Linked DNA regions of Homo sapiens: all the other regions are linked to region 4. The links are contacts of gene promoters, found by promoter capture Hi-C in blood cells and fetal thymus (Javierre and others, 2016). All regions are on one chromosome and are shown on one strand. The core of a region is centred on a gene start or on the middle of the fragment in contact, and the rest is flanking DNA. Distances in the headings are between cores, read along the strand shown.

Region 1 (3,307 bases), core at 1-2,500, 140 kb after region 4:
ATTGCTGGGAGCCCACTGGGCCACTGGGCAACTTAGTGGTGTCGTTGCAGACACAGAGCAGATCCGGGAGACCCTGAGGAGAGGACTCGAGATCAACAGCAAACCTGTCCTTCCACCAATCAACCCTCAGCGGCAGAATGGCCTCGCCCACGACCGGGCCCCGTAAGTTCCCCAGTGTCCCTGGGCTGGAACAAGAGGACGACTTTTTTCTGAAGGGCCTGTCCCTGTGGATTGCATGAGAGAGAACAATGCACATAGCCCTTGCTGGATGGGCCCAGGATCTCTAGGCTTAAGGGCAGGCATGGTCTGGGGCACACAGATCTATCTGTGGGTCATAGGAGAGGGCCTCAGAGGGGACCCAGCAGACCGTGAATATTAACATCAGTAAATATTTACATGAGCCGTGTGAACAGACAGGAGGCCAGGTTGGGGAGAAATCTGACTTGGGGCCTCCCAGCCTTGTGGGAGCCCATTGTGCTGAGCACGGTTCCCTCCTTATCTCAGTCTTGGCCAGAGTTGCCCTTCCTTCCTTCCTGGAGCCTGGTCTCCGGCTGATAGCTGCAACCCTGGGGGCCTCCCTCTCTGGCCAGCCCCATACTGGATGCCTGTGGCTGAGGCCCTTCTTCCTGCCTCTCTTCCCTGGGGCCCAGGGAAGGGAAAGGAAGTCTTTTGCAGGCCTCTGCTGCCTGTCCAGGGGCCCCTGTAGCCCTCCGGAGAGACTGTGGCCACCCTAGAGGTCAGATCCGCTTCCTGCCAACCTCTCTTCCTCTGATAGAGGGGATGAGTGATAGGCAGGGCTGAAGCTGGGCACCCCCCTCTGCCCTTAGTCCCAGGGCAGCTCTAGGGAATAGCTGCTGGCAGGAGATACCTGGGGGCTGGCAGCCCAAAGCAGGAACCTTGCCTGCCAGGGAGGAAATTGCTGTGCCTTGGGCTGAAAGGGAGGTTGATCATCCTGCAAGACCAGGGTGATCTAGCCTTCTTCTATGAAGTCTTTATTACACATTTGCTGTCTGACAAGCTCGGACCTAGGGGGCCATCTGGGGTGCACAGGCTCTTCCTTTGGGAGAACATGAGTGAAACAGTTACCTTTTAATGGTGTGCATCTGGCTGTCGATGTGATTTGTTGGAAATGGCTGCTTCTCTGGATTCTAGCTCTAGTTGCTGATCGTGTTTCCCAGAAGTAGTAATGCTTCAGTGCACTACAGAAAAGACAGGTCCACAGGATCTGGGGTAGTTAGGGAGGGCATCTTGGAGGAGGAAGAACATAGCATCGACCTTGAGGGCACCTTAGAATTTTAATAAGCAGGGGAAGGAACTCAAGAGGATAGCACAGGGGAGGCCTGGCTGGTTAAAGTTGAGGCTGCCTGCTGGGACCTGACTGGAACTAGAGTTACTCTGGGAACAGGGCTGTACTGAGAGTTGAGCTCTTTGGCAAAAGCCTGGAGAAGCCTCCACCGCCACCTCAGAGCAGCTTTTAACTCCGGCCTGTAGGTTTCTCCAGCCAGCTGCCCTGAAGTAGCTGGCTGGAGGCATCCTGATCATCCCCTGGCAGCAGCAGATGGCCACACCAGGTCATACGACATATGGAAGCTCTCTACCTGTGAGTCTGGACCCTGTCCCGGGTCTACACTCCTTCCCATTCCCTGAGCTTGGCTTCTCGCTTTGGGCCTCCTTGGCACTGTTGGCAGGCCAGAGGTACTGGAAGGCCTATAACATGGACACAGTCTCAGTCCAGATGGCTCTCTGCCTCTGGAAGCCTGGGGTTTCTAGGCAGAAGGGCACAAGCTCCTGCAGAGATACAACCTTCTTGCCCCGCTTGTGTATCTGGAACAGGCCTGAGATCTCACTCCCTGGCTTGGGGGCACTTCCAGCTACTGCACCCCTGGACATTGCAATGGGGCACAAGGCTCTGTGCTCCTAGATATACACATAAGCCGAGACTCTCAGCCTACACCCTAACTGGGCAGTCGGGTATTGGTTCTGGCCCAAGGGTTCTCTGTAAACATAAGGCAGAGAGGCTGCAGCTTCTACCCTTTGGCTTGAGTTGGCTGAGATACAGAGAGATGGGTGAGAATAGATTCGAGGTGCCGGGGTTGTCTCCCCTTCCTGAAGGTTTAGTGCCCAGTAAGGTCTCTAAAGCACCAGGACCTGTAGTCTGAGGGGAATAGAATGTTTCCTCTGAGGCTGTCAGTATTGGTTACCAATTTGTTAGCAATTGGTTGAGAAATGGTTTCTCCTCCTCCTTTGCCAAGAACATTCTCCAACACACCCCTCAAGCCTGTCAGACTCAAGTTTCCTGTTATCTCAGGATCGATGATGATGGACTCAGTTCAGATCAGTGAGCGTGACGGTAATATCTGTGCTGCCCACTCTGGGACCTGACCCCATTTCACATACACCACATGGATTGCAACTGAGAAAGCTGACCCAAAATGTGCTGGCACCAGTGTTTGCTCCTCTCCCTGTTGGGGGGCAGCCAGCGTGGGCCATATTTTGTCTGCGGGTCTGATTTCCCCTTAGTCAGGACTTCTGGGCCAGGGAGCTCTTATGCATGGGTCTTCGCGGGTTTGTCTGTGGTCTAAGGAAGATACAGAGCTAAATCAGAGGCTCAGAGCAGCTGATCAAGCCTGGGCAATAGCAGCCGGGTGCCGGCCTACTTGGGGGTGTCAAGCACTTGCTCTTTTCACACTTCAGCAGCAGCTAAAACCTTATTAGTGCTCATTCTGTGCTAGGTAATGTGCCAGCTACTATGTGCTGCCATTCATTTATCTTATCCTCATAGCCATCCTGTGGTCGATAATCTTACATATTCCCCTTTAATGGATGAGGTACAGAGAGGCTAATAAGTATCTTTTCCAAGGTTGGAAAGGGGTAGAGCTTAGTTACAGCCATCTATCAGCCATTAAAATGGATGTAATCTTCCTTACCCCATTCTCAGGGACCCCATGGGGGACACATCAGACTGTGTCTCTGAGAAAATAATGACCTTTACTGGTAGAATTCATCTAACTAGTTGCAGCATGAATCAGGACCTCTCACATGGCACCAAGGACAAGGCCAAAGCCTCATATTAGAAGCTTATTGGGCTTATTTAACTAAACTCTAGGGGAGTTAAATAACTCCTATGAGATGCCATGAGCCTTGATGATTCCAAATCCCAGAAATAACAAGCTATGTCATAATTGGCTCATTTATACCAAAATTATTTTGTGACACAAGGCCTTACTTTCTTCATGTGCAGAAACTAAAACAACCCTCTCTCTGGTCCCTCTACCACCTCAGGGCTAGGGGATTTCTTTCCATTTTG
Region 2 (3,141 bases), core at 331-2,830, 200 kb before region 4:
AGTTAAAGCCCAGAGGAGTTTAAAGTGATTTAGCTGAGGTCACACTAATCCTAAGAGGTGGAGTCAAAACTAGAATTCAGGCCTCTGTTGCCTGGTTTAGGGCTCTTTGCTCTATATTGCTTCTGTACATGTGATTAGAAGAGAATGTACACATTAAGTACCTTATATTTGTGTGTGTGTGTGTGTGTGTGTTTATTTTATGTATATATATACACACACACACACACATATACACTGGCAGGAAAGGAGGAAAGTGTCAAAACCAAGGGGATGTAGATACAGACTGAAAGGGACAGCCTCAGAGCTATGTTCCTTTGTTGACCACAAAGGGCTCCTGCAGTGTATAACCCTGGAATGCTTTTGGCTAGTGACATATGTCAGACTGTAATTGGATAGTGTTTAGGCTTCTGCAAATTAAACAAACAATAAGAAAATTTCTTCTTTTCATTAGAAATATGGGAGAAGATCTGGAGAAAAAATCTATTTTACTTTCCTAAACATGGGCTAAAGTTATCTAAGAGTTCCCTACATATTTTCTTTCTTTCTTTCTTTTTTTTTTTTTTTTTTGAAACAGTGTGTCTCTCTGTTGCCTAGGCTGGAGTGCAGTGGTGTGATCTCGGCTCACTGCAACTGCAACTTCCGTCTCCCAGATTCAAGCGATTTTCGTGCCTCAGCCTCCCAAGTAGCTGGGATTACAGACGTGCACCACCACACCCGACTAATTTTTGTATTTTTACTAGAGACGGAGTTTCACCATGTTGGCCAGGCTAGTCTCAGACTCCTGACCTCAGATGATCCACTTGCCTTGGCCTCCTAAAGTGCTAGGATTACAGACGTGAGCCACCGTGCTCAGCCCATATTTTCTTTTTGTGCAGTGGCGTGATCTCAGCTCACTGTAACTTCTGCTTCTTGGGTTCAAGCAAGTCTTCTGCCTCAGCCTCCTGAGTAACTGGGATTATAGGCGTGTGCCACTATGCCTGGCTAATTTTTGTATTTTTAGTAGAGATGATGTTTCACCGTTTTGGCCAGGCTGGTGTTGAACTTCTGACCTCAAGTGATCCGCCCACCTTGGCCTCCCAACCATATTTTCTTTAAAGGAGCAAATTTCACTCAATTGAAACAGCTTGGAAATGTTAGCTAAGAAGGATCAAGTATAGAGGAGGCAATTGTTGACTAGTTAGCAGGGCAAATGCTGCTACTAGGTGGCATGTTCTTATTTTATGGCCTGTACCGACTGGTACTTGAGTGCTTTAGAATGTTGGCTACTTGCACAGATTTTTTTTTTTAATTTTACAGATAAAGCTTACATATCCCAATTAGAAAGGAAATATAATGAATGGAGATTTACAGTTCTTTTTGTTTGGTTTTGAATTCAGAGTACTGTCTTCTTAAGAGATATTAAGAGGATCAAACAAGTTAATATAATTGGAAACACTTGGTAAACATCTTATACACAGTGAAGGATTGTTGTTATAAGTGACTGGGAATACCCTAAAATGACTGAGATCACCCTGGCCTTGTAGGCCTTTTGGTCATTCTGCAAACCTTGAGGAGCTGAGGTGGTGCTGCTATCCTGACAGAGCCACATTTCCTGCCTGCTACTGAATCCAGATCCCATGCTTATTTTCTTCATGCTAACATGTCCCAAGATTTTACCTCAGAGACCATACCTGTGGTGAATGATGCAGTCTAGGAATTGTAGACTATTTAAGAGCTATCAAAGTTGAGTCTGACGCCTGATTTCCTTACGTCCTTGGGTCAGAAATCCAGCCAGATTATCTGCTCTTGGAACTAGTAAAACCAGAGTGTGTTCAGGAGCCATTTCTCTCATTGGTGGTAGGAACATCTCTGGGTGTTGCTAAGCTTTCCCCTGGAGTGAGAGGGAAGGGAGTAGTGTTTTCCAAGGCCAACAGCTGTGGCATGTCTTGAAATGGTGCCTGCCAAGGTTGCTACATTGTTCTTGGTTTTTAGCATATTACCTGCCTGAGAAAATGACAGAATAGACCTAAAATAGAGCATTTATGGTCTTCATATTGCTTCTGACCCCACACACAGTGCCGGCTCCCAGGAGCAGGTTTATGGGTCAGCTGTCCCTGTGGTCCTGGACTCTGCAACCCATGACTAATTTCTTGTTTCTTTTACGGAAACAAACAGATTTTTCTGATTGGCAGTGTCAGGAGGACTGCTTTCCTGGAAGCTTATTAATGGTAGGAGGCTGGGAAAGGGTTTTTAACTTGGAGAGAAAACTGAAGGGAATGTGCTTGTGTTAGATGACCAGTTAAGGTGTACCACTTAGATTGGAGGAGGGATAGCAGGAATTCTAGGACTTCTACCCAGTTTCTCATGAAACTGACTTGGACATGGTCCTTTTTTGCAAAGGGTTTCTGTTTGCATTTTTCTAGGCTTTCTGCTGGCTTGATTGGTAAGACTATCACTGTTGGAAATGGGTGGTTCATTGGACATTGTCAGTAAACCAAAATGATTTTTTTTTCTCTTTTTGTAGAAAGAATCTTTAAAATGTATAAGTACTACCTACACTACTCCTCCAGGAATATTATCTCATTATTGTGAAGGAAATAAGTCCTTTTCTCCAGTAAGGTTGGCTAAGTCCATACTAGTTTTTCTCACAGATGTATGTCATTGGACCACATTTACAGTCAGTATTTGCCTAAACTGTATGATGACTACAAGGTCTATAGCATTTAGAGTAATAAGATATTCTAATAATACCAAATTTGAAAAGAGGGTTGCTCTTGGAAGAAAAAGGGTGTCCAAGAGCAAAGTTTGCATACTGTTACTTTGGATAAAGCTTTAGCTTACCACCAGTGAGAGAGACTTGACTGCTGTCCCTCATTTGGTCTTGAAGTCCTCTCAGGACTCCTTTTAGATTATTCTGAAGGAGTTAAAACAGATGTGTGGTTACCAGGGGCTGGGAGGGGGTATGGAGAGTGACTGCTAATGGCTACAGGGTTCCTTTTTGGGGTAATGAAAATGTTCTAGAATTAGATAGTAGCGATGGTTGCACAACTTTGTGAGTATACAAGAAACCACTGAATTGTATACTTGAAAAGGATAATTTTATAGTATGTGAATCATATCTCAGTTTATAAAGGAGGCAAATGTAGGCTGCAGAAGTGATGG
Region 3 (3,120 bases), core at 416-2,915, 180 kb before region 4:
GCCTTTCAATTTTAGAATCTATAAAGCACATAAATTATAATCTATAAATTATATTTTTATAAATTATCTATAAATTATATTTATATAAATTGTTATATTATAACTTAGACTCATACATAATCTATAATAGATTATTTCTATAAACATATTTATAGAAGAGTTGTAAAGAAGTTCTCATCTATCCAATGCCCAGTTTCCCCTGTTATTAACATCTTACATTAATATGACACATTTGTCACAATTAATGAACAAATATTGATTCATCATTAATTAAAGTCCATACTTTATTCAGATTTCATTAGGTTTTTACTTAATGGCCTTTTTCTGTTCAAGGATTCCATCTAGGATACCACATTACATTTAGTCATCACATCTTGTTAGGTTCCACTTGGCTGTAACAGTTTGCCTGTATTCTTTTTCTTTTCTTTTTTCTTTCTTTTCTTTTTTTTTTTTTTGAGACAGAGTCTCGCTCTGTCGCCCAGGCTGGAGTGCAGTGGCGCGATCTTGGCTCACTGCAAGCTCCGCCTCCCAGGTTCCTGCCATTCTCCTGCCTCAGCCTCCTGAGTAGCTGGGACTACAGGCGCCCACCACCACACCCGGCTAATTTTTTTTTTTTTTGTATTTTTTAGTAGAGATGGGGTTTCACCGTGTTAGCCAGGATGGTCTCAATCTCCTGATCTTGTGATCCACCCGCCTCGGCCTCTCAAAGTGCTGGGATTACAGGTGTGAGCCACCGCGCCCGGCCGCCTGTATTCTTTTCAAGTTTCACAAAAACTCACAAGATAGACTGTGCCTTTATTAATATTCCCCTTTTACAGATAAAACTCAGGTTCCAGAAAAATTAAGTAACATTTTCAAGGTTATACAGTAAAAGCTTCTTTTAAAGTGTGATTATGATTTGGAAAAAGGCGATGAGGTTATTTATTTGCTTTTCACGTGAATAAGGGCAGACTTACAGCTAACCTTCAGGTGGGCCATTTACTGAAGAGGAACAAGAGACAGAGGTGAGTCTAGCTTGTTCCTGGACTCTTCTGTCTTGCTGGAGACAAATTAACATTATTATTTTAATCACAATTATTTTGGGAAAACCCCTTTCTCTTTGATTCTGCTATGTCTACCAAAGGAACTGATGGCAGAAAATCCTGAGTTAGCCTTGTTCCCTGGCAACAGACTTCAGGCTGCTTACTGGTCCCTGTTGTTGGATACCAGGTTCAGTAGGAAAGTCTGCTGAGAGTATAGCATGAACACTAACCCAACTAGCCTATTTCCAGCACGTGTGGTGTTAACTATCTGGGAATAGGAACATGAGTTTTTAAATTCCAGTCTCTAATTGGGTAGGCTGAAGTTCTGGCTTGGAGTAAGGAGATTCACAGAACTGCAGTGCTAAGAGATAGTAGAAAAATTTAAAAATTCAATAAGACATGGCACTTAACTGACTCTGAATGCTCTGTCCGGAGGGATGAGTAAAGGGGAGAGGTGAGAGGAGGTAAAGTAGCGGGTTACTAATGATCCTAGATACTATTAAAAGATTATCACAAGGAGGTGGAAACTATTGAGGTACAAACCATCAGATCTTAAGGTAAGGAGTCACTCATCTTGCCCAGAGAAGTAGTAGTGAAGATAGTACCTGGATCCTAAAAGGTAACTTTTAAAGTACTTCAACCTAAGATGACAGAGGGTAGGCAGTTTATTGATACCCTTAACAACCACTTGTTAGTAGAGCCATTTTAATTAATGGGAAAGGGGATCATTCTCCGTTTATGCTTTTATTATATGTAGCTATGAGCATAGAAGCTGTGTTTGGACCCTCTGGTGACTATTGCCCTCTTCTAGTTGTGTCCAGGCACAGGTAAATTCTTGAGGCCAGGAAGGGCCTGGCTTTATCTCCAAAAGGAAGCTGTGGAAATAGCAATGAGCAAAACAATGAGAAAGAGCTTTAGAAAATTTGCAAATATTGTGTATCTTCATGGCATGATGAAGTGGGATTAGGACAGGGGAGAAAGTATAAACCACCAATTATAGGAGTCTTTAAGGGCTTGGGTGACTGAGGCCTTCTGCTAGGAGGCTGGGAGGTTGTTGATGACAGCAAAGATGTAACAGGTATTGAATACTAGAGGATAGACCTCATACTCTGAAAATGCTTTTGCCTCAACAATTTGAAAGAGAAATATGAAAGACAAAGTGACAATATGAAGAATGACTATTCAAAGTGCTTCTACCAGTAAGTCTTGTCTGTTGGCAAGTTTTAACCTGTAGGTAGGGGAAAAACGTGGGAGGATCTCTTATTCAGAATGCAAAACAGGAGACAGTGAAGTACCTGTGTTTCCAAAGAACTCCGAATTGAGCTGTGGTGGAAGAGGAGGAAATTTCTTACTGTGGTCTTGTATAATGTGAAATCTTTGTGAAGTCTCAATAGATGTTAAGTCTCCAAGGAGGGGAGACTTTTTAGCTGCTAAAGAAGCTTAGGTTCAGTGAGCCTCCAGTGGGAATACAGACATAGACGTCCACTGACATTTCTGCAACCAGTTTTGGTGAGTGGAAAGCAACTAGGTAAGTTTCACTTTTTGCAAGAATCCCAAGTGACCCTTTGCACTATGGACTGAGGTACCTGCTTGTCTCTACAAAAACTATAGAGGAGACACGACAGGCTTTAACTGGAAATTGTTCATGGTTTCTTAGAAGGGAAGCTCATATCCTGTTAAAGCACTTTAGAAAAATAAAGTCAAATTAGAGATAAGAGGATCTTTACTTGTATTTTCAAGAGCTTTTTTAAAAAACTGAAGTGAAATGCATATAACATAAAATTAACCATTTTAAAGTGAAACAATATAGTGGCATTTAGTACATTCACAATGTACCCTATCTAATTCCAAAACATTTTCATCGCCCCAAAAGGAAATCCTGTACCCATTAAGCAGTTGCTCCACACTTTCCCTTCCCCTCCAGCCCCTGGTAGCCATCCATCTGCATTCTGTCTCTGTAAATTTACCTATTCTGGATATTTCATATAAATGGAATCATATAATATGTGTCCTTTTATGTCTGGCTTCTTTCTCTTAGCATAATGTTTTTGAGGGTCATCCATGCTGTAACATGAATCAGCACTTCAATTCTTTTTAG
Region 4 (3,080 bases), core at 278-2,777:
GTGGTTGTTAGGAGGAGGACAACATTCCTGTTGCAGGAAGTTAGCCGACAACCATCAATGAAGGTCATAAGGATGAGCAGTTCACAAAGCTCCTACACCCTTGTTTCTCATTTAATGTCTGAAAAATCCCTGTAAAGCATAAAACAGACTCACAAAAGGAGGGTCCCAGCCAGGTGCAGTGACTCACGCTTATCATTCCAGCACTTTGGGAGGCTGAAGCGGGAGGGTCCCTTGAGCCCAGGAGTTCAAGACCAGCCTGGGTAACATAGTGAGACTCCATCTCTACAAATAATTCTAGAAATTAGCCAGGCATGGTGGAGTGAGGTGGTGGTCCCAGCAACTTGGGAGGCTAAGGTGAGAGGATCATCTGAGCCAGGGAGGTGGAGGTTACAGTGAGCTGAGATCATGCCACCACTGCACTCTAGCCTGAGCAACAGAGCAAGACCCTGTTTCAAAAAATAATAATAAAGAAGTCCCTTAGCAAAGAAGTGTTGGAGCTAGGGGTTGAGTTCCAAGTCCCCCATAAGGCAAAGGCCACAGGCTTTTTGCCCTGTGTCCCAAGGTAGGGGAACCAGGCAGAGCTGGAATGTGTGCTGTTTGCTTGCCCAAAAACCTATCCAGGCTTACAGGCCAATTGGGAGAAAACATAAAACATCCTCCACAGCCTACATTGAGCCAAACAAAACTTGATTTTGAGGGATTGTGCAGGTGTGGGAAGAGGAAAGACTCTTGTTATGGGAGTCAGGATAGCGGGTTCCACCTCGACTGGGCCCTTGCTGTTTGCGTGTCATTGAATCTCTCTGAAATGCAGTTTCTTCACATATAAAATGTGGATAAAAGCGCCTACCTCCTAGGAATGATGTGAGGACTCAACAAGAGAATGCACGTGTTGTTCTGAATGTAGTACGGTGCACATAGCAAGCACTCAGTACTCCTTAGGTTTTATTATTGCCGTTATTAATACAAAGAGGTTGTGCTGCATGGTTGCTCATTCAGGCCCTGGTGGCTGTTTCCCACCTTCAGCCCTGGCTCCTGTGGCTAGAGCCCTGGTGCCCACAGCTCAACCTGGACCTGTCCACCCTTGAAGGGCTCATGATGCAGCATCAGGGAGTCCCAGATCGAGCCGCTGACACCTCCAAGTCGGCTGCAGCTGTGCATCCGCTCAGACCACAAGACTCAATGGAGGATGCTGACCTCTCTTTGTTCTCCCAACGAGTACTAGGCAAGGAGGGAAGGAAGGTGAGCGCTTAGAAAAAACGTGTTGGTTTCAACTGAAATGACATTAAGCTATCGTGGAGGTAAAGGAGAGGGGTTGAGCCGGTCAGGAATCCAGGCAACCTGACCCTATTTGCCAGTGTCCGCTTTTAATTTTGGTCGCTAAGGGCAAGCGCCCGTGACAAACATGGCGGCGGCAGCCTCAGGCGCAGTCACCTGCCGGAGCTGCGCCCGGGGGCCGCGCGGAGCCAATCGCTGGGCGGGGGCGGAGGGAGAGGCTGGGGAAGCCCTAGAAGTGCGCGCAGGCGCATTGGCTCGCACCTGGCTCCCGCCAGCCGTGGGATTAGGCTTCGCCGGCTACGATTGCGGTGAGACGCTGGCCAGCGGCCGGGGCTCGCGGGCAGGAGCGGGCTGGGCTGGGGCCGATCTGGCACAAACGACAGACCCGAGGGGGAGGGGAATGCTTTGCGCTCTGGGAGTCATGGGGGCTATCTGCGGGGGTCTTTGGGGTGATCATATTGTGGATTGGGAGAGTTGTGTGGTCCGGGCGGAAGAAGCGGGGTTCAAGGGGGCAAGGGTGGAATCCTCGCAGAAAGGCTCTCCGGGGGTCTGGAGGAAAGGGATGCAGTGGGTCAAATAGCTCCCTGGTGGTCTGGGATCGAGGGATGCACTGGTCAGGTCGGGATCCGTGCCATTAGCATAAAGGCATTTAACCCTGGTGGCACTTGGGGAGCTTTGAAAAACACCGATGCTGGGCCCGCCCGAAGAGATTCCGATTTAACTGTTCTGGGTGAGGCCTGGGCCTCGGTATTATTGCACAGCTCCTCAGGTGATTTTAACGTGCAGGCGGTGGGGAGCAGCCCTACACGTGTTTCAGCACCAGCTATTGAGTGAAGAGCTCCTGGGCTGATCCCAAACTCCTCAGTGGCTTGGGAGGGGTGGGTGGTCCTGAGGTGAAGCTGTCGCCTCTTCTGGGACCTGTGGGGGAGGGAGAGGGAGAAGGTCCCCATCTCAACAAGTTGAAAGCTCATTTCCAGCCGGAGGAGGAGGATGGGCCCCCACCCCCCAACCCTGGTGCTAGACCCTGCTGTGGGGAGACTGGGCAGGAAGACAAGACCCCGAGAGTGAAACAGGAAACACAGCAGACAATTCAGGGGTCAGCTGCCTGTTGAGAAAAGGGCACATATTATACCTTTCATGTTCATTTGTTCATTTGGTATTCCTGAGGATAGGCAGAGAATGGAATTGTTTTCTCTGCTTCACAGATGTAGGAATAGACTCAGATAGTAAGTTAAAGATAATGTTCACACCTGACCCAGGGCTCCTGACTCCAAATTATGCCTCTTCTTAGCTTTTACCTCTGCACTAATGTCTCTTGTACAGTCTGATACCTCTCACTCCAGGGGCCCAGTTCGGCATTCTTGGTTTCCGCCACTAAATTCATCAACCTCCCCCACCCACCATAGGTTGGTTCAGAAATCAGGGAGATGTTGCTGCTTCCATCCCTTTCTAGTCTTTACCTACCAGGGGCCTGGTAGGGTGAAGGGGAAGAGTTTTGACACCTGCTAGAGGGCTTCTTCCAAACAGATCTGTCACTTCCCCACCCCCAGCGCCCCACCTGTTGTCCTCAGCATAGAATCTTGCACAAGGTTTACAAAACCCTTCCTGATGTGGCCCCTTTCTCCCGCGCTGCTCTGAGCTCTCTTCCCAGATTGTTTCTGTGTCTCTTAGCACAGTGCTGTGCACCCGGCGAAAGCTTAATAAATGTTCCTCTGTTATGATCACTATTCTTCTTTGTACCTGCTGCCTTGCTTTAGTGTCTTACTCAGAGAGGCACATCAAGCCTCCCAGGCTGCCCCTTCTCT

The links. Contacts are between HindIII fragments. The CHiCAGO score rates a contact against its expected background, and 5 or more counts as called.
Region 1: a fragment that was not itself captured here is called in contact with the fragment with the promoter of SLC68A1 in region 4 in 1 of 17 cell types (erythroblasts); the score reaches 6.7 in erythroblasts.
Region 2: a fragment that was not itself captured here is called in contact with the fragment with the promoter of SLC68A1 in region 4 in 1 of 17 cell types (activated CD4 T cells); the score reaches 5.3 in activated CD4 T cells.
Region 3: a fragment that was not itself captured here is called in contact with the fragment with the promoter of SLC68A1 in region 4 in 1 of 17 cell types (activated CD4 T cells); the score reaches 5.1 in activated CD4 T cells.

The regions. Positions count from the first base shown.
Region 1 is chr10:102,599,383-102,602,689 of GRCh38, forward strand. It overlaps SUFU (SUFU negative regulator of hedgehog signaling), which reads left to right. Exons shown (of 12, transcript NM_016169.4): 8 at 51-162. Among named protein-coding and RNA genes, the nearest start is that of TRIM8-DT, 42 kb to the right of the region's middle. RefSeq lists an enhancer at 370-1,120. The HindIII fragment of the contact is 3,650 bases long and covers 1-3,075 here.
Region 2 is chr10:102,261,067-102,264,207 of GRCh38, forward strand. All of the region lies in intron 3 of GBF1 (golgi brefeldin A resistant guanine nucleotide exchange factor 1), which reads left to right. Among named protein-coding and RNA genes, the nearest start is that of GBF1, 17 kb to the left of the region's middle. The HindIII fragment of the contact is 561 bases long and covers 1,301-1,861 here.
Region 3 is chr10:102,281,490-102,284,609 of GRCh38, forward strand. The region is part of intron 3 of GBF1 (golgi brefeldin A resistant guanine nucleotide exchange factor 1); the gene reads left to right. Among named protein-coding and RNA genes, the nearest start is that of GBF1, 38 kb to the left of the region's middle. The HindIII fragment of the contact is 1,587 bases long and covers 873-2,459 here.
Region 4 is chr10:102,459,868-102,462,947 of GRCh38, forward strand. SLC68A1 (solute carrier family 68 member 1) reads left to right here and starts at 1,528. Exons shown (of 10, transcript NM_024789.4): 1 at 1,528-1,583. LOC124902493 (a long non-coding RNA gene) reads right to left here. Exons shown (of 3, transcript XR_007062270.1): 3 at 926-2,193. RefSeq lists enhancers at 1,047-1,116, 1,244-1,927, 1,928-2,610 and a silencer at 1,387-1,606. The HindIII fragment of the contact is 5,189 bases long and covers 1-2,969 here.